Linked DNA regions of Homo sapiens: regions 2, 3, 4, 5, 6 and 7 are each linked to region 1. The links are contacts of gene promoters, found by promoter capture Hi-C in blood cells and fetal thymus (Javierre and others, 2016). All regions are on one chromosome and are shown on one strand. The core of a region is centred on a gene start or on the middle of the fragment in contact, and the rest is flanking DNA. Distances in the headings are between cores, read along the strand shown. Region 1 holds the start of BUD13 (BUD13 spliceosome associated protein). Region 2 holds the start of TAGLN (transgelin). Region 3 overlaps RNF214 (ring finger protein 214). Region 4 overlaps SIK3 (SIK family kinase 3). Region 5 has its middle 17 kb from the start of PAFAH1B2. Region 6 holds the start of PCSK7 (proprotein convertase subtilisin/kexin type 7). Region 7 overlaps PAFAH1B2 (platelet activating factor acetylhydrolase 1b catalytic subunit 2).

The links. The method cuts DNA at HindIII sites, captures the fragments that hold promoters and counts their contacts. A CHiCAGO score of 5 or more calls a contact.
Region 2: the fragment with the promoter of TAGLN here is called in contact with the fragment with the promoter of BUD13 in region 1 in 14 of 17 cell types (naive B cells, erythroblasts, total B cells and 11 more); the score reaches 15.1 in naive B cells.
Region 3: a contact is called between a fragment that was not itself captured here and the fragment with the promoter of BUD13 in region 1, in 11 of 17 cell types (naive CD8 T cells, total CD4 T cells, activated CD4 T cells and 8 more). The highest score is 9.9, in naive CD8 T cells.
Region 4: a contact is called between a fragment that was not itself captured here and the fragment with the promoter of BUD13 in region 1, in 13 of 17 cell types (non-activated CD4 T cells, naive CD8 T cells, fetal thymus and 10 more). The highest score is 15.8, in non-activated CD4 T cells.
Region 5: a fragment that was not itself captured here is called in contact with the fragment with the promoter of BUD13 in region 1 in 17 of 17 cell types (total B cells, total CD8 T cells, naive CD8 T cells and 14 more); the score reaches 18.7 in total B cells.
Region 6: a contact is called between the fragment with the promoter of PCSK7 here and the fragment with the promoter of BUD13 in region 1, in 13 of 17 cell types (naive CD4 T cells, naive B cells, neutrophils and 10 more). The highest score is 16.1, in naive CD4 T cells.
Region 7: a contact is called between a fragment that was not itself captured here and the fragment with the promoter of BUD13 in region 1, in 16 of 17 cell types (neutrophils, naive CD8 T cells, activated CD4 T cells and 13 more). The highest score is 16.8, in neutrophils.

What each region holds. Positions count from the first base shown.
Region 1 is chr11:116,770,306-116,774,324 of GRCh38, reverse strand. It overlaps BUD13 (BUD13 spliceosome associated protein), which reads left to right and starts at 1,338. Exons shown (of 10, transcript NM_032725.4): 1 at 1,338-1,503. The coding sequence starts at 1,361. It overlaps ZPR1 (ZPR1 zinc finger), which reads left to right. Exons shown (of 14, transcript NM_003904.5): 14 at 1-526. BUD13-DT (BUD13 divergent transcript) reads right to left here and starts at 854. Exons shown (of 2, transcript NR_186226.1): 1 at 814-854; 2 at 120-415. RefSeq lists an enhancer at 790-879 and a silencer at 1,000-1,199. The HindIII fragment of the contact is 6,866 bases long and covers 1-4,019 here.
Region 2 is chr11:117,196,551-117,200,619 of GRCh38, reverse strand. It overlaps TAGLN (transgelin), which reads right to left and starts at 1,250. Exons shown (of 5, transcript NM_003186.5): 1 at 1,188-1,250. It overlaps LOC100652768 (a long non-coding RNA gene), which reads left to right. Exons shown (of 8, transcript NR_045215.1): 2 at 708-769; 3 at 1,832-1,883; 4 at 2,184-2,301; 5 at 2,713-2,834; 6 at 3,216-3,390; 7 at 3,474-3,612. It overlaps SIDT2 (SID1 transmembrane family member 2), which reads right to left. Exons shown (of 26, transcript NM_001040455.2): 26 at 3,178-4,069. RefSeq lists a silencer at 2,333-2,627 and enhancers at 2,030-2,693, 4,026-4,069. The HindIII fragment of the contact is 9,715 bases long and covers 1-4,069 here.
Region 3 is chr11:117,249,524-117,253,265 of GRCh38, reverse strand. All of the region lies in intron 6 of RNF214 (ring finger protein 214), which reads right to left. Among named protein-coding and RNA genes, the nearest start is that of RNF214, 19 kb to the right of the region's middle. The HindIII fragment of the contact is 9,181 bases long and covers 1-3,742 here.
Region 4 is chr11:117,092,038-117,095,976 of GRCh38, reverse strand. All of the region lies in intron 1 of SIK3 (SIK family kinase 3), which reads left to right. Among named protein-coding and RNA genes, the nearest start is that of SIK3, 4.4 kb to the left of the region's middle. The HindIII fragment of the contact is 1,538 bases long and covers 965-2,502 here.
Region 5 is chr11:117,124,891-117,128,991 of GRCh38, reverse strand. It overlaps the pseudogene LOC101060089. Among named protein-coding and RNA genes, the nearest start is that of PAFAH1B2, 17 kb to the left of the region's middle. The HindIII fragment of the contact is 536 bases long and covers 983-1,518 here.
Region 6 is chr11:117,229,521-117,233,417 of GRCh38, reverse strand. PCSK7 (proprotein convertase subtilisin/kexin type 7) reads left to right here and starts at 1,345. Exons shown (of 17, transcript NM_004716.4): 1 at 1,345-1,391; 2 at 2,950-3,069; 3 at 3,562-3,897. The coding sequence starts at 3,574. It overlaps RNF214 (ring finger protein 214), which reads right to left and starts at 747. Exons shown (of 15, transcript NM_207343.4): 1 at 692-747. RefSeq lists silencers at 608-947, 1,158-1,307 and enhancers at 1,498-1,547, 2,417-2,656. The HindIII fragment of the contact is 17,537 bases long and covers 1-3,897 here.
Region 7 is chr11:117,153,286-117,157,256 of GRCh38, reverse strand. All of the region lies in intron 2 of PAFAH1B2 (platelet activating factor acetylhydrolase 1b catalytic subunit 2), which reads right to left. Among named protein-coding and RNA genes, the nearest start is that of PAFAH1B2, 11 kb to the right of the region's middle. The HindIII fragment of the contact is 8,620 bases long and covers 1-3,971 here.

The DNA of each region.
Region 1 (4,019 bases), core at 89-2,588:
ACAAGTTCTGGGAATCTAATGTACAACATGTTGACTATAGCTAATAATTCTGTATTGTTTACTTGAAGTTTGCTAAGACAAATTTGCTTAAGTGCCCCCCCACCGAACTACTACATAAATTAGTGAAGGATGTTTTACTTAATTTGATTTTGGTAATCATTACACAATGTATAATTATATCCAGTCATCACATTGTACACCTTGAATATATATAATTTTTTGTCAAATAATAAAGCTGGGAAGAAAACGATAAAACTGACAATCTAACATATATGATGAGGTAAAAAGATCTGGTATTTCAAGAAATTTGGATGACCTCTTGCACCCCACTTCGCTAGCCTCTACTCCCTAGAGTCATGTTCTGACTATGTGAAGTTGAGCAACTTCCTTAATCTTGCCACGCTTCAGTTCTTATCTGTAAAATATGATAATGAAACGATTTGAGAATTGTGAGGGTTAAATGAGATAATTCAGGTAAAGCTCTAAACCCCCTGCAAAGAATAAAGTCTTTTCTTTCCCCCCAAAACTTGAGTGTTAGAATTCATTCTCTCTGGTTTCTCTCTTTTACTATGCTAAAAAATGATCCAGGTCCGTCCTTCTCATTGGCAAGATTGTTTTACAGTTTCCTTCAAGAGATAACTGGGGGCTACTTGTAATAGAACACTAGAAGAGTTACACAGGTCTTAGAAACTACGTTTTTCATAGTAATTATGTTGGTTTGCACTTCCTGGCTTCCTTTCTTGGACGGTAGGTACCTGGAAGCCTAGTGGAGCAGATTCCCCCCACTTAAAGATACTTATAAAAATAACGAACATAGTTCCGATGACCATGTGCCCAACACCGCTCTGCGCACTTCACACAGTAATATCATCTCAGCCTGTGACCGTTCCGAGTTAGGTGCCGGGATTCTCCCTGTTTTGTGATAACTTGCCCGAGGTCGTACAGCTAGCCAGCTATGGAACCAGTATTCAAACTCGGCTACGCTGCAGCCCGTGGCCCTCCACTTTCTTGCTCGTGCTCTGGAGTTTAGGCGGCCGATGGGGGCGGGGTCCTTTGGGTCAGGTTGTGGCCTCATAGAACAGCGCTTGCTGCGGTTGGATGGATGGGTGGGTGGGTGGGTGAGTGAATGAAGAGAAGAAACCTGGTGGCGTCGTCCCAGGGCTGTGGAGCGCCCCGAAGGTGCGCACGTCCCTGGCTAGCCTGCGAGCGCGTCCCGGTGGCCGCACCTGCCAGCCGCGCGATTCTTAGCACTCTCCGCCACTTCCGGCCGTGGCCCCGCCCTGTCGGGTGGCTGGCGTCCGTTACGCGTTGAGGCATTTTGTCCCCAGCGCCGACCCGTCTCTCTGCCCCCGCCGCTGCCATGGCGGCAGCTCCGCCGCTTTCCAAGGCCGAGTATCTGAAGCGTTACTTGTCCGGGGCAGATGCCGGCGTCGACCGGGGATCTGAGTCCGGTCGCAAGCGTCGCAAAAAGCGGCCGAAGCCTGGCGGGGCCGGCGGCAAGGGGTGAGTTGGTACCGGCCGGGGCGGGGCCTGCGACGTCTAGCCACCCCTTCCCAACTCCGCCCTCGGCCGCCCGGCAGTTCCTTCCCTCTTGGCGGGTCTCTCGGCTTCTCCGCCGACCCCTGCTCATGCTCAGGGCCCCACTCACATCGCTTGAGGCCCCCCGCCTTGCCTCTGCCGCCCCGCTTACATCTCGAGCCTCTGAGCAGTAGCGTCAGTGCGTTAAAGCCGGGGTGTAACTTTGATTACTCTTTTCCCGCCTTGGTAGACTTCCGTCCTCTCCCATAGAGAATGAATATTGTGCCTCGAGAATAATGGAGCGGATTCAAAGCCTCTGTGCTTGGATCTTTAGGGCCCGGTACCTGCCTGTGGGGATTCCCAGATCCCAAGGACTTGGTTCTGAATCAGAGACCTTTGATCACCTCCTGTTACTCTTAGTAATAGTCCTAACGTGAGAAGCTAACATTTATATAGTTATACTTTTCTTGCCAGGCACCATTATAAGAAATTTAAACATATATAAGTTTATTTAAGCCTCACCACACTACCATGAAGTGGGTATTATTTTCATATGGGACAACTTTGTGGCCCAGTGTAGTGGGCCCTACCAAATCGTTTTCCACCCAGAACCACAGAATGTGACATTTAGAAATAGGGTCTTTGGAGATGTAATCAGTTAAGATGAGGTCATACTTGATTAAGGTGGGTGCCAAATCCAAGATGACTGTTTGCCTTTTAAAAAGAGGGAAGTATGGATACAGACACAGCAACAAAGGAAAAACGACCATGTCTAGATGAAGGCTGAGATTGGATTGGATTTATGTTGCCAAAAGCCAAGGTATGCTTGGGGCTACCAGAAGCTGGGAGAGGCAAGGAAAGATTCTCTGCTAGAGACTTTCCAGGGAGGATGGCCTTGCAGACACCTGGATTTCAGATTGCTAGCTTCCAGAACTGCGAGAGAGTTTCTGTTGTTTTATGCCACGCAATTTGTGGTACTTTGTTACAGTAACCCTAAGGCACTGAGATACCCAGTGAAGTCACATTGTTCTAAAGAACTAGTCCAAGTTCTTTTCTGGTTTGGTGCTTGCCTTATTATTGTCTTCGTCTTTCTGCCTCGCTGACTTGTGTGGATCCTTTGGAGGCAGTGCCATGTGATGAAAGTAGCTTGAGTGTTGGAGCAGCACTGGTCAGAGTTCGAATCCTAGCTGTGCCACTTTATAGGCTGTGTACCCTTGGGCAAGGTGTTTCATCTCACTGAGCTGCAGTTTCCTTATCTTTAAAATGAGAATAATAATAATAATGGTTTTATTAAGTGGTGGTTGTGATTAGAGGGATTGCATTAAGTGACCCTGGCTTTTTGAATAACTTCACATCATGGCAGTCATTGTTATTATTTGGGCTCAGCTATATAGTTTATCCACGTAACAAACATTTATTGAATATTTCGTATTCCAGTTACTGTAGGGTGTTGAGGATGCCTCTGTGAACAAAAAAAACATAGTCCCTGTTCTTGTGGAGCTTATAGATTAATGGGAATACAGGCTTTAAGCAACTAATTACACAACTAATCGATATATTTTCTTTATGATAAATGCAATGAAAGTATTCCAAGAGTTTTTAACAAGGGTTCTTAGTCTTGAGTGAGTGTGGGATGGTGAGGGAATTGGGTGAAGCAGTCAAGAAAAGTTTGCCAAAGGAAGTTAAATTTGTGTTAGGACCTGAAGAATGAGGAAGAGTTTCCTGGAATGAGAAAGAGTTTCCTAGCACTTTGGGAGGCCAAGGCGGGTGGATTGCTTGCATCTAGGAGTTTGAGACCAGTCTGGGCAACATGGTGAAACCCTGTTTCTACAAAAAATACAAAAAAGTAGTCAGGCACAGTGGCACATGCCTGTAGTCCCAGCTACTTGGGAGACTGAGTAGGGAGAATAACTTAACCCCGGGAAGTCAAGGCTGCAGGGAGCCATGATGGTGTCCCTGCACTCCAGCCTGGGCAGCAGTGTGAGACCCTGTCTCAAAAAAGAAAAAGACTAGGGCCGGGCGCGGTGGCTCACGCCTATAATCCCAGCACTTTGGGAGGCCAAGGCGGGCGGATCACGAGGTCAGGAGATCGAGACCATCCTGACTAACACGGTGAAACCCCGTCTCTACTAAAAATACAAAAAATTAGCCAGGCGTGGCAGTGGTCGCCTGTAGTCCCAGCTACTCAGGAGGCTGAGGCAGGAGAATGGTGTGAACCCGGGAGGCAGAGCTTGCAGTGAGCTGAGATCGTGCCACTGCACTCCAGCCTGGGCAACAGAGCGAGACTCCGTCTCAAAAAAAAAAAAAAAGAAAAAGATTGAAAAGAGTAGATCAGGCAGAGGGAAGGAACTGCATATGTGAAAACTGATGTGATAGGAACTTGGCTCCTTTCTAAGCACCAAAGGATGACCAGGGAGGTGTTCAACCAAGGAAGTAGCAGTAGGAGATGAAGTTGACCTTGTAGACAAAGACTGGACCATGCAGGATCCTGTAGGATTTTG
Region 2 (4,069 bases), core at 1-2,500, 430 kb before region 1:
CAGGGTCGAAAAGTGGAGAATCCCCAGAAATCCTTTAGAGTCCTCTGATGAAGCCTCCCGAGTCCTGCCTTCGAGCCAGTGGGGAGGGGGAGAGGAGGATGATTACAGGGCGGCCCCCCCAGGGGCATCTCAAGACACTCCCAGGACAGCATGGACAGGCATGGACCCTCCTGCCCTGTGGCTCCTGCCAGGACCCCTCCCCTGAGCTGCCCAGTGGGTGAAAGTGGGCAGTGGAGAAAGAAAGTCCAGGGTCAAACGGGAAGGTGGCACCCCCTACCAGCAGAAGCCCAGAAACACGAGCAGAGCCAGGGGCCCCTGCAGGGCTGCTGTGCCCCTTCTCTCTTCCCAAATAGGAGTGAGCACACCTGGACCTCTGAGAGGGCAGGAGGGTGGCTCCTCTCCACTCCACGGACAAACAGGAGTGGCCTGGCTACATAAATGTGTGCCATCCTCACTGCTACCTTTGGAATAGCAACTTCGAAAGGGAACCACCCTTTGGGAAAGACCAAGGGTCCCAGGCCTGCCCCGCCTATCACTCCAAAGCTCCTCCTTGGCAGTACCCGCCCCCCACCCCTCTGCTACAGTGGGGGTGACCTCCCACTGTCAGACAGTGGAAGGGGCTGCTTGTCAGAAGGACAGGCCTTCCGTCTCCACTCTTTGCCCCTGACTGGAATACAAGAGTTCTGTGGCCCTTCACATTGTCACAGGGCTATCGCTGCTGCTCAGGCCCTGGGGACCCGCCAGAGTGGGACACCGTGCTCCAACACAGGTGCGTTCACACACTCCTCACCTCCTTGGAAGTTCTCCTGGAGGGGCAACAGACAGTAGAGCCTTGGCCTAACCGGCCGGCGCCTGCACCCTTACACACACCTTGTGGATGTGGCTGGCTGAGATGGGGAGCCTCCCTCTCACCCCGGTGGTTTCCATCAATTCCTCTGCACTAGCCAAGTCATCCGGGGCATTTCAATGAGCCCGGGGCTGCCCAGTCTGAGAGAGATCCAGGACGCTAGTGATCCAGCCCACCCTGCCTGGAGCTTGGGCCCCCATGCTGACTGAGAGGGTGGGTTTCCCTAGCCAGGGAGCTGGAGCTGGCGCCTGGGACCTCAGGAGAGCCTGCCTGAAATGCACCCACTGCTCCTGTCCAGCTCCAGCCCAACTTCCCTCCAAGCCCCAGCCAATGCACTCACAAGGCTTCCTCAGGGCTCGCAGGAAGGAGTGAAGACTTGTGTCTGGGTTCGGACAGACAGGATGGGGCGCTGGCTGGGTGAGGGGTTTAAAGGGCTGCCGCCGTGGTGATGTCAGCCTCCCCCACTGGCTCGCTCCTCGGCCCCCTCCCTGCTAGAGGAAGCCGGCTCCGCTCCCCACCCCCGGCTCCCCCAGTGACTCCACACAGGCTCCATATTTGGGGAAAGACACCAAGTTGGAGCAGTCTACCGGGGCTGCCGAGACATTCTCTGCATGCTTTGGAGATGGAGCGGGCCGGGGCGGGGCACGCTGCCGGCGGGGAGCCGGCCCGGGAAAAGCCTTTTATGGACAGGACCCTGCCCGGACTTACGGCTGCTCCTACTTCACTGTTCTCTGGCCCCGAGTTTGAGAAGAGGGGGAGTTCAATAGAGTCTGGCTGGAGAGAGGGGCAAGGGGCTGGGGAGCCGGGAATCCCAGGGGTTTGTGGGGACAAACCAGCCACCCTCTCCTCCTGGGGCTTTTAGCTCTGATGGGACATGGGATCCAACCTTTCCTGAGGACCTACTCCACACCAGGCCCTTTGCAGTGCTCTCATTGAATACTCACAGCTACAGTGTGAGGGTGTAATTACATCCCCATTTTATAGATGAGGAAACTGAGGCCCCGAGTGCGTCTTCCTCAAGGCCACATGGTGAATGGTAAGTGGCAGATCCTGCACACCTCTGCCAACCCGCATGGGTGCAGGAGAGGTGGTCAGACCCACCCTTTCAATTGGACCACCCTGCTCAGGTTGAGAAGAGCTTTCAGTGCAGGTAGGTCTTGAGTTATATGCTTTAGTTGGGGCTGGGATTTGAGGGTTCGGCAGAAGCTGAGTCCAACTCCGGTCCCCATCCAGTGGGCAGTGTCAATAAGAGGGTCTATAAGGCCTGGCAGGGCCTGAGACACTAACGCAGGAGAAGGAGGCTCAGGAGGCTGGTATCATCCCTTCCTCCCTTTAGGAACAGTCCCTACCAGCCTGGAAAACAGACCAGCCTCTGTCACTCCAGAGATAACCCACTCTCATCTTGCTCGTACCTGGCTTCAGGGATCTTGGGGAGAGATAAGAGGTTAAAAAAGGTGAGACTAACAGTGGGATCCCTGGACTGACTGCTGTGGCACTCCCCTGCAAGGGCATCTGGTAGGGAAGACCTAACACTCTCCACTACACACACACTGCCACACCCGGCACCACCCCTAGCCAAACAAGGCCCTAGGAGGGGGCTGCCAGGCCTGGCAGAGGAGGGGCCCGCCTCCGCAGTTCTGCCCACTGCAACTGGACATGCTCCAGAGCCCAGGGGAGGCACAGCCATAGCACCTCCCAGTGGCGCCTGCAGGAAAAGCAGGAAGAGGAGTGGGCCCTGGCGAGGGGAAAGCCCACTCCTCCATCCCTGACCCTGCAGACCTCTGGTTGTGTTCTGAATTCAACAGATTCCTTGGCCCCCAAATCATGTCCTCCTTAGCCGACTGAAGTCTAAATGAATCTTTCAGGGACATATCAAAACTCCCTCCTCTTGGAGCCTGCCCAGCTTTCATCACCCTCCTGCCTCGGCCTGCACGCTGAGCGGATTATAAACGCCGCATCAGGGAGCACTGCTTGGGCCTGTGGCTTGGTGAGCTGGGGGCCGCTCAGGTCAGAGGTGAAGTGAGCCTCAGTCTGGTGGGCGGGGCCAGGTGGGCAGAGACTGCTGTTCCTGGGGAGGTAAGGAGGGATGTCTGCAGTGGGATGGCGTGGGAAAGGCTTTTCCAGGAACTGGCCTCTGTCCAGCACAGTGCCCCGGTAAATGTTTACTGAATTAATGCTGTTGCTGGAGGGACAGGAAAAACGGGAGAATCAAGGAATTGCAGTTCCCAGTAGGGCCATGGCTTGAAGAATGGGGAAATGGAAGACCTCCGCCTCTCCCCTCATCCTCAACAGCTCCACCCAGAGGGAGTGCAAACAAGGGCCCCAAGAACTGAGTCTGGTTGTTTATTGAATGCAAATTCATTCATAGAAAACGGAAATGCAACCATAGCATGGAGACGCTCTGAGAAAAGATCCAGACCCACCTCATCTCCCAGCCCTTCAAGCAGAGCTATAAAAACAAGTTTGGGAGAAAAACACATTCCCATCCCCAAAGCAGAGGCCCCGCCTGAGCTCCCCCATCCTCAGCATCTGGGGTGGACCAGGTGGGACGAAGGGGATCCAAGGACCAGGGTGGCCAGGGTGCCCAGAGCTGGGGCAATTCTTTGTAAACTCCAAGGTTTCATAGGTATGTGTGTGCATGACTAACACAGAACTTGCCTGAAGACTGGACGGAAACTTAGAAGCCAGCCCTGGGTCCTAGAGCGAGGCTAGGACTGGGCACGTAGAGGGAAACAGCACATCCCTTCCTGAAGCCCCTTTCTAAGGTAGGCACTGGGGTGCCCACAGCTGTGGAGGCAGAACGGGCTGAACTCTGTATCATCCCTCCTTTGCCCCTGGACATTCTTGGGCAGTGTCAATGGCACTGAAAGGCCACCAGCTGGGGTTTGGCAAGACTAAGGGCCTGGAAAGAAGGAAGGGAAGGGGTGAGGCGCTTCTCCCTCCAGTCCTGGTGCTGGCATCAGTCTGGGAGCTGATGGGATGAAGAGGTGACCTCTGAATTCAGCCTCTTGAATCAGAAGGCGGTTCTCAAATTGGGCTGAGCGCATTGCTAAAGAGCCAGCCCTGAGCACAGGTCAGAGGGAAGAGAATACGCACTGCCCCAGGCCCCTTGCAGGCCTTAGCACCAAAAGTCTGGCACCAGCTGGCCAACCCCCAAAATCTCATACCCCCATCCATCCTGGCTGACTGGAATGGGCAGTGATGGCAGCCAGGGACAGCCCA
Region 3 (3,742 bases), core at 500-2,999, 480 kb before region 1:
TCCTAAAATTTTGAGAGGTCAAGGGCAGGAGTTTGAGATCAGCCTGGCCAACAAACTGAGATCCAGTCTCTACAAAACAGAAAAACTTAGATGGGCATGGTGGTGCACACCTGTAGTCCCAGCTACTTGGGAAGCTGAGGCAGGAGGATGGCTTGAGCTCAGGAGTTCAAGGCTTTAGTGAGCCATGACTGTACCACTACACTCTAGCTGGGCCAACAGAGTGAGATCCTGTTTCTAAAAATAAAAAAATTATAATTACATTGAAATACATAGTGACTACCTTCAAATAGTACAAAGCACTTAGCAGATTTCTATTAAGTAAATTCATCTTTAATTAATATTAATGTGAAATTCCCTTAATTTCCAATCCAGTGATAGAATAAACACTTATCAAATAATTACCAGATATATGGCACTAAAAGAATAAAACATTAAAAAAAATTTCAGGCCAGGTGAGGCGGCTCATGCCTGTAATCCCAGCACTTTGGGAGGCCAAGGCGGGCGGAACAGGAGGTCAGGAGAGCGAGACCATCCTGGCTAACACAGTGAAACCCCGTCTCTACTAAAAATACAAAAAATGAGCTGGGCGTGGTGGCAGGCACATGTAGTCCCAGCTACTCGGGAGGCTGAGGCAGGAGAATCGCTTGAATCCGGGAGGTGGAGACTGCAGTGAACCAAGATCACGCCACTGCGCTCCAGCCTGGGCGACAAAGCAAGACTCCGTCTCAAAAAAAAAAAATTCAGATTCAGTTCATAAAGAAATGGCACAGGCAATTTTGCAAAGAAGGCAGAATTTAAGTTAAAACGTATAAGACAGATAAGACATCTTATCAAAGAATCCCATTATTTCCCTAATTTTCCAAGCCAGAAATATGGGAGTTATCCCTAACTCAACCCTGTCTACCCACATTGATCAGTGCTGCCCCTAAATGTCTTACAAATGTGTTCACTTCTCTCATTCCCACTGGCACTACTTTAGTTTCAGCCATAATTATGCTAACCTAGGCTCTGACAAGATAAGTCTCCTAACTGGTCAAATACACTAATCCAATCCATTTTCCAACTGCCCAAGTAATCTACTGAAAATGCAAATCATAGGCCAGGCAGGATGGCTCACACCTGTAATCCCAGAACTTTGGGAGGCCAAGGCGGGCACATCACTTGAGGTCAGGTGTTCAAGACTAGCCTGGCCAACATGGTGAAACCTCGTCTCTACTAAAAATACAAAAATTAGTCGGGCGTGGTGGCACAGGCCTGTAGTTCCAGCTACTCAGGAGGCTGAGGCAGGAGAATCACTTGAACACAGGAAGTGGAGGTTGCAGTGAGCCAAGATCGTGCCACTGCACTCCTGCCTGGGCAACAGAGTGAGACTCTGTCTCAAAAAATGAAAAAGTAAAATAAAATAAAAATAAAATGCAAATTGTATCATTTGATACTCTCCTCCCTTAAAATCCTTCAATATCTCTATCATGGAAAAACCCAAACTCCTTAACACAGTATAAAAGCCTTTCTGATCTGGCCTCACTCCCCCACTTCACGTCTTGCTTGCTTTTCTCTCACATCTCTGAGCCCCCTGCCGGCAGTGTCTTTTCCTTCATTTGTTGCCTGGCTAATTCTTCCCTATACCTACCCTGACCCCTGCTACTTTTTCTTCGAAAATTTCAAACCAAGAAAAAGTTAATAAAATAATAAAATGACCCGGCCAGCCGCCCCGTCCGGGAGGGAGGTGGGGGGGTCAGCCCCCCGCCCGGCCAGCCGCCCCGTCCGGGAGGGAGGTGGGGGGGTCAGCCCCCCGCCCGGCCAGCCGCCCCGTCCGGGAGGGAGGTGGGGGGGTCAGCCCCCCGCCAGGCCAGCCGCCCCGTCCGGGAGGGAGGTGGGGGGGTCAGCCCCCCGCCCGGCCAGCCGCCCCGTCCGGGAGGTGAGGGGCGCCTCTGCCCGGCCGCCCCTACTGGGAAGTGAGGAGCCCCTCTGCCCGGCCAGCCGCCCCGTCCCGGAGGGAGGTGGGGGGGTCAGCGGGGTCAGCCCCCCGCCCGGCCAGCCGCCCCGTCCGGGAGGTGCGGGGCGCCTCTGCCCGGCCGCCCCTACTGGGAAGTGAGGAGCCCCTCTGCCAGGCCACCACCCCGTCTGGGAGGTGTACCCAACAGCTCGTTGAGAACGGGCCATGATGACAATGGCGGTTTTGTGGAATAGAAAGGGGGGAAAGGTGGGGAAAAGATTGAGAAATTGGATGGTTGCCGTGTCTGTGTAGAAAGAGGTAGACATGGGAGACTTTTCATTTTGTTCTGTACTAAGAAAAATTCTTCTGCCTTGGGATCCTGTTGATCTGTGACCTTACCCCCAACCCTGTGCTCTCTGAAACATGTGCTGTATCCACTCAGGGTTGAATGGATTAAGGGCGGTGCAAGATGTGCTTTGTTAAACAGATGCTTGAAGGCAGCATGCTCGTTAAGAGTCATCACCACTCCCTAATCTCAAGTACCCAGGGACACAAACACTGCGGAAGGCCGCAGGGTCCTCTGCCTAGGAAAACCAGAGACCTTTGTTCACTTGTTTATCTGCTGACCTTCCCTCCACTATTGTCCTGTGACCCTGCCAAATCCCCCTCTGCGAGAAACACCCAAGAATGATCAATAAAAAAAAAAAATTAAAAAAAAAATAAATAAATAAATAAATAAAAATAATAAAATGAATGTCTACCTGTCATCTAAATTTACCAGTTGTTGCATTTTTTTTGCCACATTTACATCATGACACTTAACTCCTAAAACTTCAGCAAGTATCTCTTATGAACAAGAACATCCTTCTACATAATGAAACAATGTCATAATCACATGTAAAATATTTTTTTAATTTCTTAAACTTTTTTCAACAACATGGGTTTATACACCCAAAATACATAACACTGACACAGTATTACTTAACACGTAGTCACTATTGAAATTTTCCCAATTATTCCAAAATGTCCTATAATTATACTTTGTTTAATTCAGGATCAAACCAAGGATCATGCATTTCATTTGGTGGTTATCTTCTGCCCCTTATTTTTCAGGACTCAGTTCTGGAATGATATTCCCTGGGAAGCCCTCTGTGACTCCCCCTACCCAGTATGGGTTATATGCCTCTTTCAGATGCTTTCATACCACCACTGTCATGGTATCATTACACTATTTTGCAATCATCTGTTTATCTATGTCTCTCACAATAAACAGTAATCTCTTTGAAGACTTTTTACTCTCCAGGCCCTACTGTCTGGCTCATAGTAGATACTCAATAAATGCTGGCTGAACAAATGAATGAAAACACTATAAACAGGAAATACAATTGTTATGGACTGAATTGTGCCCCTTAAAACTCGTATCTTGAAGCCCTAACCCCAGTGTAATTGTATTTGGATACAGGGCCTTGAAGGAGGCAATTATGGTTAAATGAAGTCATAAAGTGGGAACCTAATCCAATAGAATTGGTGTCCTTATAAGAGGAAGAGACACCAGGAATGTGCATGCATAGCACAAAAGCCATGTGAGACCAGAAGAAGGCAGCTGTCGGCAAACCAGGAAAAGATTCTCACCAGAAACCAAACCTGCCAGCATCTTTATGTCGGATTTCCAGCCTCCAAGAACTGTAAAATATTCTGCTGTTTAAGCCACGTAGTCAGTGGTATTCTGTTATGGCAGGCCAAGGTGAATAATATAATGACCAAAATCTATGTGTCCCGGTTCCTATGAATGATGGAATGCTAAGC
Region 4 (3,939 bases), core at 484-2,983, 320 kb before region 1:
ACTGTTTATGTTGGTTTTTATCTTTGATCATTTGTGGTATGCAGTTGTGCAATTCCTATGTATGGAAATATTCAAAGTCTTGAATGAGACTGAAATGGCTTGGACAATGAGTTGCATGTGTGAAGGAGCCACACCAGCATTCATTTGTGTTTCTGTAGCAGTGTGCAATTTCCTAGTTACAGTTACAAGTGCTATATCTTTTGCTGCTTAAATTACTCTGACTACATGAGTGAAGCTTAATTCACAAGGAGTTGTCACGTGCTCTGGGTGAACTAGGAGCATATTTTGGCCTGCTCCATGCTTCTCTGAATCCACTTTGGAAGGGGTTCTCAAATGCGGACAGCTTAGATGTGCCTAACAGCTGTCGACATACAGTACGATGGCCTATTAAGGTTATGGTTTGGTTATATAACAATGGTGAAGGTGCATAGGTACTAGAAGTTGCCGAAGCTGCTGCTTCAGTTAACTCAGGTTGATTTTTTTTCTCCCCATGCACTGCAGCCTTTATCTTACTTCTGCAGAGGGGTCATTTGGAAACAGAGAGTTATTTTTTTCCCCCATCTGTCTCCAGAATGTGTCATTTGTTGTTTTGTCTTTTAGAGGTGTGTGATTTTTTTTTCCCCTTGTAGGAAATGGTCTGGGTTTTCTTATAACCATATATAACAGTCAGACAGAGGTAATTCAGATGATACTTGTGTTGGCTGAAGGAGGTTAGGTAATAGGTATTTTCTGAACATTAGAAATAATTATGATCCCCCTCCTTTTTTTTTTTTTTTTTTTTTTTAAACACACATGACCCATTCCAAGAACTAAGAGACTAAAGTAAACCTCATTTATTGAGTAGGATACTGCACTCCATCCAATACTGCGTGGTTAAGCTGGCCCTTTCCCAAATTCTGTTAACTCTCAAACCGTCTAGAGTGGGATCCTGGGATGAATAAAATCAGTAGAGAAAAGTGAAGCTTTTCCTATTTGGTTGTTGGTTACTTTTGCAGCACGGCATTCATGAGCTCAGACTTCATATTGGCAGCACTGCAGTGCTTAGAGCGGCACTGCAGAACAGTTACCAGGAGAGAATGTTCAGCTGTGACATACTTTGGTTAGTAGCTCACCCTGGCTGTCTTTGTCCTACCTGCTTTGATTTCCTTTTCTTTGGAAGAGCCTTACTTAGCCTGAGGTTCTCTGGCTCTGTTTTTTTTTTTGGTAGGAAACTATAAAGTATTACAGATATTTTTAAAAAAGAATGTTTTCTGCTCTCAAATTGCAGGTAGTCTGTTGCCTGTGCCTAATTATACCTTCACTAGTTGGATGATTGGGAACAAAGAGTAGATAGATTTTGTATGCATTTTTTTTCCTTTTTTAAAATATTGGGGCAGGGTCTTACTCTGTCACCCAGGCTAGAGTGCAGTGACACTGCCAGAGTTCACTGTAACCTCCAACTCCCAGGCTCAAGAGATCCTCCTGCCTCAGCTTCCTAAGTAGCTGGGACTACAGGCTTATACCACCACACCAGGTTAATTTTTAAATTTTTTTTGTAGAGATGGGGGTCTCATTATGTTGCCCAGGCTGGTCTTGAACTTCTGGACTCAAGTGATCCTCCTGCTTCAGCCTCCCAAAGTGCTGGGATTACAGGCATGAGTCTGTAACCCAAATGCTTGGCCCATATGCATTTTTTAAAGTATGCATGACTATAAAAGCCTTTGGCCAAATACGTTTAAACTATATTTCAACAAATATATATCACTTGCCTGTTATTGGTTTGTGGTAAGAGTTCCAGCTTTGGATAAAGCAACCTGAGTTTGAATCTTTTGCTGCTTAATAGTTGGATATTTTTAGGCTGTGAGAAGTTATTTAACTTCTGTGTGCTTGGGTTTCCTCATCTGTAAAGTGGGATGACAGTAGTACTTACCTCACAAGTTTAGGTGTTATGAAGATTAAAGAAGATAGTGTATGTAAAGCTCTTAGAGCAGCATGGTGCCCTAATAGCATGACGTAAATATTACCATCATCATCATCGTTATCAGATGTTTTAGTAACATAATAATATTATGGACATAATAATAGTCCTCCTTTTTTTGCTTCTCACCCCTTGGGCACGATTCATGAATGTATATGCCATTAGTTTTGTGTAGGTAGATGCCATCCTGACGATAGACTTTCCTGGTAAAAAAAAAGTTTGCTACTATTGCAGGTGCCACTTTGAGATAGTTGGATTTAATTTGTATAGGGTACAGGCTGGCTAATCTCATGAAATCAGCATTTTAAAACATAAATTTTCATTAGTTAAACTTTTTTTTTTTTTTTTAAATAGCAATGTGACTTATCTAATGAAAACTGTGACCAACACTGGCTTTTGCTTTGGGCTGCCTTGAATTTTCAGTGTGTTTTGTGTAACTAATTTTTGTTATGTTGATGATGGAACAGAGTTGAGTGCAGTCTTTTCTCCAGAGGTCCACTTAAATTAGGTTTAAGTGAAATATTTAAGAAATGTTTCTGCAAGCTTAAGGACACATTTGCCCTTGCGTGCACAAGCAAAGGCCTTAGACGGCCAAGGTCAGAATTCTTAACTTTAAATATTACACAGAGAAGACATTTTGCCCTATGACCCCTTTCCAAATATTGACTAGCCAGACACATCGGTGTGGTTTAGTGCAAACTCATTTCCATGAGGAGAACAAGTCAAAGTGGGCTAAAAGCATTATTTTCACCTCTAAAGAAGAGTTTAACGAAGCACATGAGATGATGCTTTCACCCATTAGAAAACTGAAAACAAGATTCATTTGGTAAGTAGGAGAGAATTATGTCAAAAAGAAATTGAAAGCAGAATTTACATTAGATACATTTGAGGAAGATAGCCCCATCCCTAGACAATCTAGAAGTGACTATTGAAAGATGATTATGTTCAGTTTGATACAGTGGTGATGGGGTTGCTAAACGTTTTTGAAATTTTGTAAAGAGCTAAGACTGATTGAGACTAGTCTCTCCAGAGTCAAAATACCAGTATTCCATTTTCTACATCAAAGATGTTTATTTTAACATTTTGACTTTGGTGCCAGCTCCCTAGAAAGTCATAGATCTCGCTCAAGCCAGAGGTGCCCAGACTAGTTATTTCTGTGCCAGAAGTGCTGTTTTCATTTTTCAGGCTTCAGTCTGGCTAATGTTTTCTAGTTCATCGCGTAAAAGAGAACAAAATGGATGCTTTGAAAAGAAAAAGAAATGCTTTCTACTCACCAGAGCCACTGTAACTGTAAAACAACACCTAAGACATCTGCATAGAGATGGAACCTTTCCCTTAATCATTTATTCATTCAACACATTTATTGAATGAAAATTTTTTGTCAGGTTCCATTCTAGGGTCTGGAGTGCACCAATGAACAAGGGAGACAAAAAGCATCTGCCTTTCTGGAGCTTTCTAGTAGAAGGAGACAGACAAGGGACATGTAAAAAAATTAAAAATTTCATATAGGAATGAATACCAGGAAGAAAATAAACGGACTAGAGAATCCCTGGGGGGGGCTGCTGCCTCAGATAGAGTGGTCAGGGAAGACCTTTCTTTCCAAGATGATGATATTTGAGCTGAGACCTGAGTGATGAGAAAAAGCCAACCTGGGAAGATTTGGAAGACAGAAGATTCCTTACAGAAGGAATGGCATGTGCAAAGGCCATGGGGCAGAAGTGAGTTTGGTTTGGTCAAAGATTAGACACAAGGTCATGATGCCATGGTACCTTAGCAAACAAGTGGAAGGATGGGAAAAGATGAGGCCAGACATGTAGGAGGGGCCAGATCATCTGGGTCTTATGGCCATTTTATGGAATTGGGTGTGACACGGGGGTGACATCAGAGAGTATCAAGCAGAACACTAATATCACCTAATTTATGTTTTTAAAACGTGGCTGGATGTGGTGGCTCATGCCTGTAATTCCAGTGCTTTGGGGGGG
Region 5 (4,101 bases), core at 1-2,500, 350 kb before region 1:
TCTTGTTACCCAGGCTGGAGTGTATTGGTACTATCTTGGCTCACTGCAACCTCTGCCTCCCAGGTTCAAGTGATTCTCCTGCCTCAGCCTCCCAAGCAGCTGGGATTGCAGGCACCCGCTGCCATGCCTGGCTAATTTTTGTATTTTTGGTAGAGATGGGGTTTCGCCATGTTGGCCAGGCTGGTCTTGAACTCCTGACTCAGGTGATCCACCCACCTCAGCCTCCCAAAGTACTGGGGGTGTGAGCCACCACACCTGGCCGATGCTGCTTTTTCACTCTTGCTCTAGCTATAGTCAAATCTTCCCCCAATCTTAGAAGTGGTGGATGGGAATGACACGTTGGGAATAGGAAAGGAGTTTATCAGTGAAAGGACTGGCATTCCAGGGGACAGTCACATCTTCAGGCTCCTTCTTTTTATGAATTTCCAAGCTTTCTTTCAATCATTTCAGTCAGGGTGACATAGGCTCTAAAGGTGAGGTTGAATAAGTTGCTTGCAGACTCTTGATAGTAGTGGAAAGAAGAGTAAATAAGGCTGCTGTTGCCCATGCCTCAACTCAGGCGTATTGAATTAGAATGCCTCAGGCAATGTCTCCAGATGATGACTATGGCCACTAAAGATTAAGAACTGGGCCAGGCACGGTGGCTCATGCCTGTAATCTCAGCACCTTGGGAGGCCAAGGTAGGCGGATCACAAGGTCAGGAGATCGAGACCATCCTGGACAAGAAGGTGAAACCCTGTCTCTGTTAAAAATACAAAAATTAGCTGAGCGTGGCAGCGCATGCCTGTAATCCCATCTACTCTAGAGGCTGAGGCAGGAGAATCGCTTAAACCCAGGAGGCGGAGGTTGCAGTGAGCCGAGATCATGCCACTGCACTCCAGCCTGGCTACAGAGCGAGACTCCGTCTCAAAAAAAAAAAAAAAAAAAAAAATTAAGAACTGATTTATACCAACTCTCTTTGCTTACATTCATGGAGCAAGCTTATAGACCTGGCAACTTTTGCCTTCGTTAAATTTCATTTGATTTATTTATCACTTAGCTAGATTGCTGATGATGTTTCTCTCTCAAAACAGGAGCGTGAAATGCTTTACACCTTAGGAAATATTAAGGGACATTCCGTTTACAGTTCATTGAGTAGTCATCTTTAAAATGAATTCAGAATAAGGAACAGTCAGTCTTTCTCCCTACCCCCTACCTTCATCCCCAATATATTAAAGAGGCAAAAAGCACACCTGTCCCTTGTTTTCAGGGAAGCTAGAGTGTTGCCAATGGCAACCACCAGACCACTTGAGATTTACTGCTGCAGATTCCCTAAGCAACTTTGGAAACCATCTTTGCAGGTAATCTTCAGTGAGAAAAGGCTATGGATAAACTAGTTCTCTTGCATCCCCAGCTACCACCCGTTTCTGACTTTTCCTGTGTGGCATAGGAGACTCTGAACAGCCTGTTCACCAGGGGAAGAGTTAAGGATTCTGTCTCCACTGTGTCTCTGGGGAAAGGCAGAATATAGAGAAAGCTTTCTTTGGGAAAAGCAGAAGCAGCATCTGCTCTGGGTATAGGCAAATTGCAAGAACTACTTGCCAGGAAGAATTGCTGCCCAGCTCGTAGCCTGGCACGCTGGTGTTAAAAAGACTCTTTTCAAGCTCCATTGGCACTTCTGGGTATTACAGAATTCATAGTTGAATGTTCTCTGAGATCTGTGGAATAAGAAGCACCTTTCGACATTCAGACACACATGGCAAACGTATTAGGGTTCTCCAGAAAAACAGAACCAATAGGATATATGTAGATATATAGAAAGAATTTTATTGTGAGGCATTGGCTCATAAGATTATGAAGGCTGAGAAATCGACCATCTGCTATCTGCAAGTTGGAGGCCTAGGAAAGACAATGATGTAGCTCCACTCTAGGCCTGAAGGTCTGAGAACCAGGAGCATTGATGTCTGAGGGCAGGAGAAGATGAATGTCCTTGCTCAAGCAGAGAGAGCAAATTTGCCCTTCCTCTGCTTTTTTGGTTCTATTTGCCCCCTCGACCGGTTGGATGATGCCTGCCCACATTGGTGAAGATGGATTTTCTTTGTTCGGTCTACTGATTCCATTGCTAATCTCATCTGTAAACACCCTCACAGACACACCCAGAAGTCACATTTTACCAGCTATCTGGACATCCCTTAGCCCAATCAAGGTGACACATAAAATTAACCATCACAGAAAGCAACAAGAAATCAACTCCATGGTCCAGTTACCACTTCCTCTGTGACGTCAGTGATTTCAGTCTGCTGATATTTTTGTTATCTGAAATAACTCTGTCTTACATGAATATTTGCTGGCTTTTTAGGGTCCATCTTCTAATAGGAGCCTCCTTCCTCAATGTTCCTATCAAGTCCATGGGATATCCAACATCCTTCAGTCCCAAAATATCCACAGTGCTCTATCAAGAGCTGTGGATGCTCTGAGCTGTTAACACCGCCTCCCACCATACTAGCTGGCGTGGCAGTTTCTGCTGGGGATTGTCACAGCTCTGATGGGGACAATGCACACTGCTGTATTCGGTTATTGTGCTGTTGTCCTTGCTGGATACTGACAACTCTGTAGGCTGGCACTGCCATGACTCTGTTCCCTCTTGTGGGCACTCTGAGTCTTTTCAACTGCTCCATTGAGAGCCTTCTGGGTATTAAAGGAGTACCTGGGCTGTAGCATAAAATAATTTCCCTTGCTCTTTTGGATATACACTCAGAGAGAGGTCCCAAAACATGTTATTTGAGCCCTAGTGTGTTACAGAGACAGAGAAACAGCTCTTTCTGTTTTTGTTTTGAGACAGCGTCTCAATCTGTTGCCCAGGCTGGAGTGCAGTGGCGTGATCTCTGCTCACTGCAACCTCCACCTCCCGGGTTCAAGTGATTCTCGTGCCTCAGCGTCCCAAGTAGCTGGGACTACAGGCGCATGCCACCATGCCCAGCTAATTTTTGTATTTTTAGTAGAGATGATGTTTCACCGTGTTGGCCAGGCTGGTCTTGAACTACTGATATCAAGAGATCCGCCTGCCTTGGCCTCCCAAAGTGCTGGGATTACAGGCGTGAGCCACAGCACCTGATCCAAGAAACAGCTCTTTCAATGTCTAGACGAGACTTGTCTTTTCCACGTGCCCTGGATTTTCAGCTAAGGGGTCGAACTAGAGTTGCGTTTGAGTAACAATGACCACACCTCATTCTGATGACCAAGGCACTGGCTCTTGAAAAAGGCTATCATGCTTGGCTCCTTATTTCTCTAGAAGGAAGACTCTCAAATGAAGTGCCCAGCCTTCCTGCCAATAAACTTCCTTAGACCCATCCCACCAGCTAGCCAGACACACCTAGCCATACCTGAGTCATCTTCAACAGACAAGATGAGAGCTCTGATCCAACCCTGTGCAGCCATGTGCTATCTTAAAGGTTTTTCATGTTTGTAAACTTTATTTATCCTATAGGATCATAAGACACTTGAGATCCGAGGCCATGTTTTCCACTTCTTTTATATCTGTAACATTAGTGTAGCCCCAGAACTATCCTACCGTGAAGCAAAACAAACCTAAGTAACCCTTTATAATTTAAAAAGTACTTTTGTAAGTATTGTCTCATTTAGTTTTTATAACAACTTTATTAGTTAGGTTATTATTATCTTCACCTTGCAGATGAGATCATTCAAGCTGTCCAAGGTCACCAACCACTTGGTTGCGGAGCTGAGCCTTGAATCACCATTAACTCACTCAATGTTCAGGTCTCTTTCCATTACTCCACTGCTGTCAGCTTCAGGAACCAGCTATAATGCTTATACTCTAAAGCTAGCTGCTACCTTCCCTCTCTTCCCTCCTCATCTCCCAGATCTCAGCAGGAAATGTGAAAGACGACTGAGAACAATTCATTTTTATTTCTTTTCTTTTTTTTTTTTTTAAGACGGAGTCTCACTCTGCTGCCCAGGCTGGAGAGCAATGGCATGATCTCTGCTCATTGCAACCTCTACCTCCTGGGTTCAACAATTCTCCTGCCTCAGCCTCCCCAGTAGCTGGGATTATAGGTGCCCACCACCATGCCCAGCCAATTTTTATATTTTTAGTGGAGACGG
Region 6 (3,897 bases), core at 96-2,595, 460 kb before region 1:
CTGAAGAGCGCATAGGGCAGATAGGTAGATGGGGCTGTGTCAACACCTCAGTCACAGCCCACAGACCCTCTGTGCCTCAGTTTCCCTCATTATACAAAGCTCCTGGGAGAAAATGGGCCCAAACCGCCATTGCTGCTCCCTCAGGTGCAAACATCCCGTCTCCAACATAGCCCAGGGCTGGGGGGTCCTCTGCGCCCGGTGAACGAAACCCCAGGACAAGGGCCATGCATGCAACTCCGTGGCTAGAGAGCCCGTGGCGCGGGTAGGAACAGCTGGCTGGAGGGTCGAGTGTACCAAAAAGAACTCCGCAACCCGGGGCGACCACCAGCGAAGCAGGGGCGCCGGAGCCACGGGTCCTCGGGCGAGAACAGGGGACAGACGGGAAGGGGACAATGGGGGGAAGCGGCGCTGGGTGGCCTTGGCCACCCCCCACAGGGGACTGCTAGGCTGGCCGCTGGCTCGGACCAGACCCCCCTCCACCCCTTCCCCTCGGTCCCCCCACCCCGCTGCCAGCCACCCCCCCGTCCCACTTCTAGGCCGGGACCCCCGCCTCGGTTCTCACAGCACCCTCCACGCCCCCCACCCGACCCCCATGCCCGGCCCTCGCCCCGCAACCCCCACCCACGCTCGCCCCGCACACACCTCCCGCGCCGCGCCCCCGGGAGGAAAGTGGGGGAGGGACGGGACGCACCTGAGCGGGCGGAGCGGGGGGAGGGGGCGGCCGAGCCACGGGGGGAGGGGTCGAGCGCCGGCCCGCGCGCGGCACCTCCCACTTCCGGCGGCACGAGCGGAGGGGGCGAGGCTCCGGCCGCGAGAGGAGAGGCCGCGGTGGCGCCGCGCCGCCCCCGACGGCGCCCTCTGGCGGCGACAGCTGGCGCCGCCGGGGCACGGGGATGCTGCGGGAGACCCCTGAGATACAAGTGGACTCTCCCGGGGCGCGGGGAAGAAGGGAGAGCCGACTGCGAGAAGGAAGGCGACCTGGGTGGGCAGGATCCCCTCTGGGAAGATTACAGGGACAGTCGGGGCCATGGCGGTCAGAAGGAGAAGAGCAACGAGTGGCTTTTAAAGGTCGGAACCGAAATGCCCTTTACAGAGGACGCCATGAAGGAGAGCCTTCTGAAGAGGGACCATGTGGAAGATGCCCCGAGGACTCGGGGAGGCGGAGCCCGCGGGTTCAGCCCCCAGCGCCCGCACGGCCCCTGCCTGCGTAGGCCGCCCGCGGGAGCCGGACCCCGGGCGCCGGTTGCTGTGGCCCGCGGGGGTCGCCGGGCCGCAGGCGCCGCGCTGATTGGCTGCGCCGCGGGCGGAAGTGATGCTGCTGTCACTGCTCCTCCGGCTCCCGGGAAGCCGCGAGTTTCCGCAGGGAGGCGGCGGCAGCTGCGGCGGGGCCGGTGAGTTGGGAACTAGGTGTGGGGCTGGACCTGGGTGGTCAGGGGGCCCCAGAAGTGGGGGAAGCCGGCGTCTGAGGATGAGGGAGCTGCACAGAGGGTGCCTGAGGTCCTGGCGTGGGGGACCAAGGAGATGGGGCCCCAGGGCCCAGAATTCCTGGATAATGTGGGTGCTAATGAGGAGAGGGGCACATTGCACGGAGCGATCGAGGCCGACGGAGGGAGAATCGGGAAACTGACCCGGTACCCAAGCTGGCTTCTAGGAGCCGGGTGTGGAACAGCGAGGACAGTAGCTTGGGAGCAGGATCTTGGACTCCAGGCTGCCCATTCTCTTCTTCCTTGTCAATTAAGAGCTGTAAAGGGAGGCCTAGCCGTTGGGAGAGGTTGAGACCTGCTTTCAGAAGGCATTTAAGGTTCCTTTCCCAGAAGCCTGGGGGATAAAAATGCTGCTTTGCCACTAGTAGACAGAAGGAGCTCCTGCTTCTCTTTCTTCCTGACATCTGTGGTGGGATCTACTGAGTCTGAAGGAGTCTGCCTAGCGGGGCCACTGTCTGGCTAACAAGGGTTTTGTTTGTTAGTTTGTTTACTTAGTAGAGTATGCAGACTGGGGAAGACACCTAAATATCTTGGGAGAATTGAGGCTCCCGGGGGCAGGGAGGGATTGAGAGGGAATATGCCTGGAAACCTAAGAGAAAACGAGAGGAAGAAATGTAGTATGAAGATTTTTAGAGGTAAAGGAGAGGTGGCATAAGTTCTCCTTTCCAGGAAGCCTTTCAGTAAAATTCCCATTTTTCTGGAATGCTTTGAGGTAGAGCCGCTTGGGTGTGTATCTGAGTACTAAGCCCTGCCCCAGGGTGGACCCAGTGGAGAGCAAAGGCTTTTAAAGGAGCCCAGCCACCATAGGTACACACATGTCCTGCCACCCCATTTGTCTGTCCCCCAGTTCTAACTTGGCTCTTTTTTTTTTTTTTTGAGGGCTCCTGAGACCAATTCCCTGGTTCTGTCAAACCCAGGCAATTGGAGTCCCAGTCTGGAGTCTGAGTCCTCACCTTGAAGCCAGCCTCCTGAGCTCAGTACAGGAGTAGCTGCTTAGTGAGGTTCTCTCATCATTCGTTCTCTCCTGGTTGCCCGCTTGTCCTTGGTGCCTGTTCTGTTTTGTTTGCACTCTCTGGCTTTCCCCGTTTCGCCCCCGCCGCCTCCCTCCTTTCACTTTCCCTGGTATCCTTCTGGGATATACAAATCAAGAAGTTAGCTACCACCTGGACTTCTAGGACGTTATTACCTACTCTTTCAAGAGGCATTTTGGTAACTGTTTTTTGCTAGGCCTCTGGGGAACAAAATGAAAAGAGGGTGGCACGATAGCACAGGAAGTGGGTTTTTTGGGTGTTATACTGATTTGGCCTCACCGTACCAGTTCTGCTCCAGTCTATGACCGATTTTAGATCTTTGGAAATGACAATTAATGAAGTTTCTTTGGTCCCTGGTCCTGGAGTTTATCTAACCTCAGCTTGTTGCCCTGGGATTGGTGGGACATTATTTCTTCTGTTCTTGGATCCCACAGGTCTGTAGCCTTTGCTGAGTCAACACTACTCACAGTGAAAGTGATGCCTTTTCTCCATTTGCACAACATGAGTGTGACGTGGTTAGCCAGACCAGGAGCTCAACCTCATGTAGAATCCAGGTGGGCACGGGGCCCTGTTATGGGGAATTAGCCTTGAGGACAACTGGACTGAGGAGTCAGCTAGGGAAAGATTTATGTCCCCTCTAAATGTAGGGGTGAAGGGGTTGTCTCTGCTAAAGAACAGTCACGATGCAGCCAGTAGTTTGTGGAAGCGATGTGTGCTTTGAGCCCTGTGGGTGGCAACAGGGGTTGCTCGCAGTGCCTGTGAGCAACTGGACCTCCTGCTGGATTAGCTGGTGTCGTGAGGATTGGCTGTCTTGCTGTGGGAGGCCATCCGCTGGTGTTAGTGCTGGCCCACACTCCACCTGGGGGCTTATCCCTGTTGGTCAGGGATAAATGTGAACAAAAAGAGAAGATCAAATGTTTCACAATTTAAAAGGCATGGCTTAGGGACTTCCAGGGGGAACACATGGATGGCTCAGCATCTCCCTCTCAGATTCCTGCAGTTACCAGCTCTTTGATCTCTTCCATATCCTTTTTCTTTGTCTGCAGTCCACTGCTCTGATGCCGAAGGGGAGGCAGAAAGTGCCACACTTGGATGCCCCCCTGGGCCTGCCCACCTGCCTCTGGCTGGAATTAGCCGGGCTCTTCTTACTGGTTCCCTGGGTCATGGGCCTGGCAGGGACAGGTGGGCCTGATGGCCAGGGCACAGGGGGGCCGAGCTGGGCTGTGCACCTGGAAAGCCTGGAAGGTGACGGGGAGGAAGAGACTCTGGAGCAGCAGGCGGATGCCTTGGCCCAGGCAGCAGGGCTGGTGAATGCTGGACGCATCGGAGAGCTTCAGGGGCACTACCTCTTTGTCCAGCCTGCTGGGCACAGGCCGGCCCTG
Region 7 (3,971 bases), core at 994-3,493, 380 kb before region 1:
ACTTCCTCTCTTAGGGTGACAGGATTAGGGACAGCTTTTTCCTTGCTTCCATATTTTGTGCAAACACGTATTTTAAAAATTACTATTGTTTCAGTAAATATTTTTAAACTGAGGAGATATGAGAAAGAATAAAAGTTTAGTGAATAGGTGCTTTTTCCTATCATGTCAACTCCCTATTGCAGGTACTGTAGTACCAACTACCTTTCTTTTTTTTTTTCTTTTTTGAGATTTTGAGACAGGGTTTCACTCTGTCACCCAGACTACTGGAGTACAGTGGCAGCTATGAGGGGCAGCTCACTGCAGCCCCAACCTCCCAGGCTCAGGCTGGGGAGGGCTTACGTGATCCTCCCTGCCTCAGCCTCAGGCGCATTTCACCATATCCGGCTTTTATTTTTGGCATTTTTTGTAAAGATGGGGTTTTGCTATGTTTCCCAGGCTGGTCTGGAACTCAAGCGATCCACTCACCTCTGCCTCCCAAGGTGCTGAGAGATCACAGGCCTGAGCCACCGTGCCCGGCCCCAACTACCTTTCAACACCAATAAAATAGCTTGCATTTGTAGAGTCGTGGAATTTAAGACTGCTATGCTAAAGGTTCTAGTACTTTTCTCCTAAAGTGTAATAGTTGTAATAAATTTGGAAAAATAGAAAGGACCAAAACAACACATCTATAATCCTACCACCTTAACCTAGTAACTATGACCATGCTTGAGTGTTTTCTCCTCATCTTTTTTCATGTCCTCTGTTACCCCTTTTACATAGTTTAAGCATCATGGACACCTCTTTCTGGCACTATATGTCTGGGGCCAGAAAAACCAACATTCAAATTCTAGCTTACCTACTTTCCAGTCCAGTGATCTTAAGAAAGTACATAATTTGTGTCTTGGTTTTAACATCTGCTGGCAACTCCATTTTAGAGTTGTTAAAGAGTCCCAGCTATTGACTGGCACCCACTAGGTACTTGATAAATGGTAGCCGTTATAGTTGCACTTAACATCATACTAGAACCATTTTTCTATGTAGCAATGCAGTTTTTATAATCATAACTTTTAATGGCCATATATTCTTTTCTAGAGACAGGGTCTTGCTCCGTCACCGAGGGTGGAGTGCAGTGCATGATCACAGCTTACTACAGTCTCAAACTCCCAGACTCAAGCAATCCTCCTGCCTTGGCCCCCCAGTAGCTGGGACTACAGGCACACACCACCATGCCCAGTGAATTTTTTTTTCTATTTTTTGTTGAATCAGGGTCTTGGTGTGTTTCCTAGGCTGCACTTCTGGCCTCAAACAATCTACTGGCCTCAGCCTCCCAAAGTGCTGGGACTACAGGTATGAGCCACTACACATAATATACTCTACTGAATGCACTCAACGACACATTTTTGTTTGCTATTTTGGGGGGTGAGGGGAATGAGGGTCTATGTTGCCGAGGCTGGTCTTGAACTCCTGTGCTTAAGCAATCCTCTTGCCTCAGCCTCCCAGGTCACACTCTTCTTCCTGTGGACAGACTTGCCAGTGGCCTCTTTTTGTGAATCTAGTAAGTGTGATAAAGGGATATATATATATATAATTTTTCCTACACTGGAAATTCTTAGTCAAAATAAATCAGTATTTTTATGGATTTTGGACATATTTCCAAATTCTCAACAAAAGGGCTATATGCTAATCTGTAAGGACTCCAGCAATATATTAGAACTGGTTTTACTGTACTTGAACCTGAATTAGATATTAACGTTTCTCTTTCTTTCTCTTCCTAATGTTTTAATTTACACTTTTTGGAAACAAAGTTACACTTCCTATCATGTCTACTGAAATACTTATATATTAGTTCCTTTAGGATATTTTTATTGATAATATAAGGTATCTATGCTTCATCTATAATATTTACTGCGTTTATTTTCCTTAGTCTGCTGCTGAGCCTTATTTTTCTGGTTAATATGTTTTGATACGATTTCTATTCTATTTGGCAAGTCTTTCAACACTACCCTTAAGAAAACCTTTTAGGCCAGGGATGTGGTGGCTCACGCCTGTAATCCCAGCATTTTGGGAGGCTAAGGTGCGTGGATCACCTGAGGTCAGGAGTTCAAGACCGGCTTGACCAACACGGGGAAACCTCGTCTCTACTAAAAAAACACAAAAATTAGCCGGGCATGGAGGTGGGTGCCTGTAATCCCAGCTATTCAGGAGGTAGAAGTTGCAGCGAGCCAAGATCACACCACTGCACTTCAGCCTGGGTAACACAGTGAGACTCCATCTCAAAAACAAAAACAAAACAAAACCTTTTTATTACGCAAAATATCAAATGTATACAAAAGCCGAGAGAATAACATCTCCATTCAGAGAGAATAAACCTCCATGTATCAATTACCAGCTACAGCAATCATTTATGGCCTGCATTATTTCAGTCATACTCCCAACTACTGCCCCACTCCATCCCCAGACTATTTTGAAGCAAACTGAGGATATATCATTCCAAGTATAAATATTTCAGTATGCAATGCTTAAAAGATTTTTAAAGTCAGGCACGGTGGCTCATGCCTGTAATCCCAACACTTTGGGAGGCTGAGGCAGGAGGATCACTTGAGGCCGAGAGTTCAAGATCATCAGCCTGGGCAATATAGTGAGACCCTATCTCCACAAAAAATAATAAAAAAAATTAGCCCGGCATGGTGGCATGCACCTGTGGTCCCAGCTACTTGAGAAGCGGTGGTGGATCACTTAAGCCCGGGAAGCCAAGGCTGCAGTAATGGTGCAAGCTGTAATGGTGCAAGCTGTAATGGTGCCACTGCACTCCAGCATGCTTGACAGAGCAAGATTCTGTCTCCAAAAAAATTTTTAAAATATTTGTGTTTTTCTTCCATTTGACTGATTTTTCTACAGCCAGAGCTCATTGAAGCCTATTAACTTAAGACAAGAATAATGAAGATATCTAGTTTAGTTACTACTTTTCTTTTCTTTTCCTTTCCTTCGTCTTGAACTCCTGGGCTCAAGCGATTCACCTGCCTCAGCTTCCCAAAGTGCTGAGATTACAGGTGTGAGTCACTACTCCTGGCCTAGTTACTATTCATAAAGGTATAAATGATCCAGATGTCCATGAAAGAAAAAATGGGCAAATCAACTGTGGTATACTTCTTTTTTTTCTTTTTGAGATAAGGTCTCAATCTGTCACCCAGGCTGGAGTGCAGTGGCACAATTATAGTTCATTGTAGCCTTAATATCCTGGGCTCAAGTGATCCTCCCGCCTTGACTTCCCAACCTGCCCTGGCCTCCTAACGTGCTGGGATTACAGGCATGAGCCACTGTATACTGCCCTGTCTTAAAAAAAAAAAAAGAAAAGAAAAAAATATTGGGACAACTGGAGAAATCTGAATATGGTCTTTGGATTAAGTAATAATAGTATTATATCAATATTACATCTCATGATTTTAATAACTATCCTATAGTTATTTAAGAAAAGTCCTTGTTTTTAAGAAAACATGCTGAAATATTCAGGGATAAGGGAAATGAGTGCAAATGCTTCAGAAAAACCCACTACGTTAGTATATACATATAGAAATAGATATAGACACAGCAGGGCATGGTGGCTCACGCCTGTAATCCCAGCACTTTGGGAGGCCTAGACAGGCAGATCACTTGAGGTCAGGAGTTTGAAACCAGCCTGGCCAACATGGCAGAACCCTGTCTCTACTAAAAATACAAAAATTAGCTGAGCGTGGTGGCGGGCGCCTGTAATCCCAGCTACTTGGGAGGCTAAGACACAAGAATATCTTGAACCCAGGGTGGCAGGGGGGTGGAGGCTGCAGTGAGCCAAGATTGCACCACTGCACTCCAGCCTGGGCAAGAGTGAGACTCCATCTCAAAAAACCAACAACAACAACAAAAAAAAAACTAAAACAAAATAGATACAGACACAATAATTAGGCAGATACGGTAAAATGTTAACAATTGGTGAGTCTAGATGAAGATACTTCTTT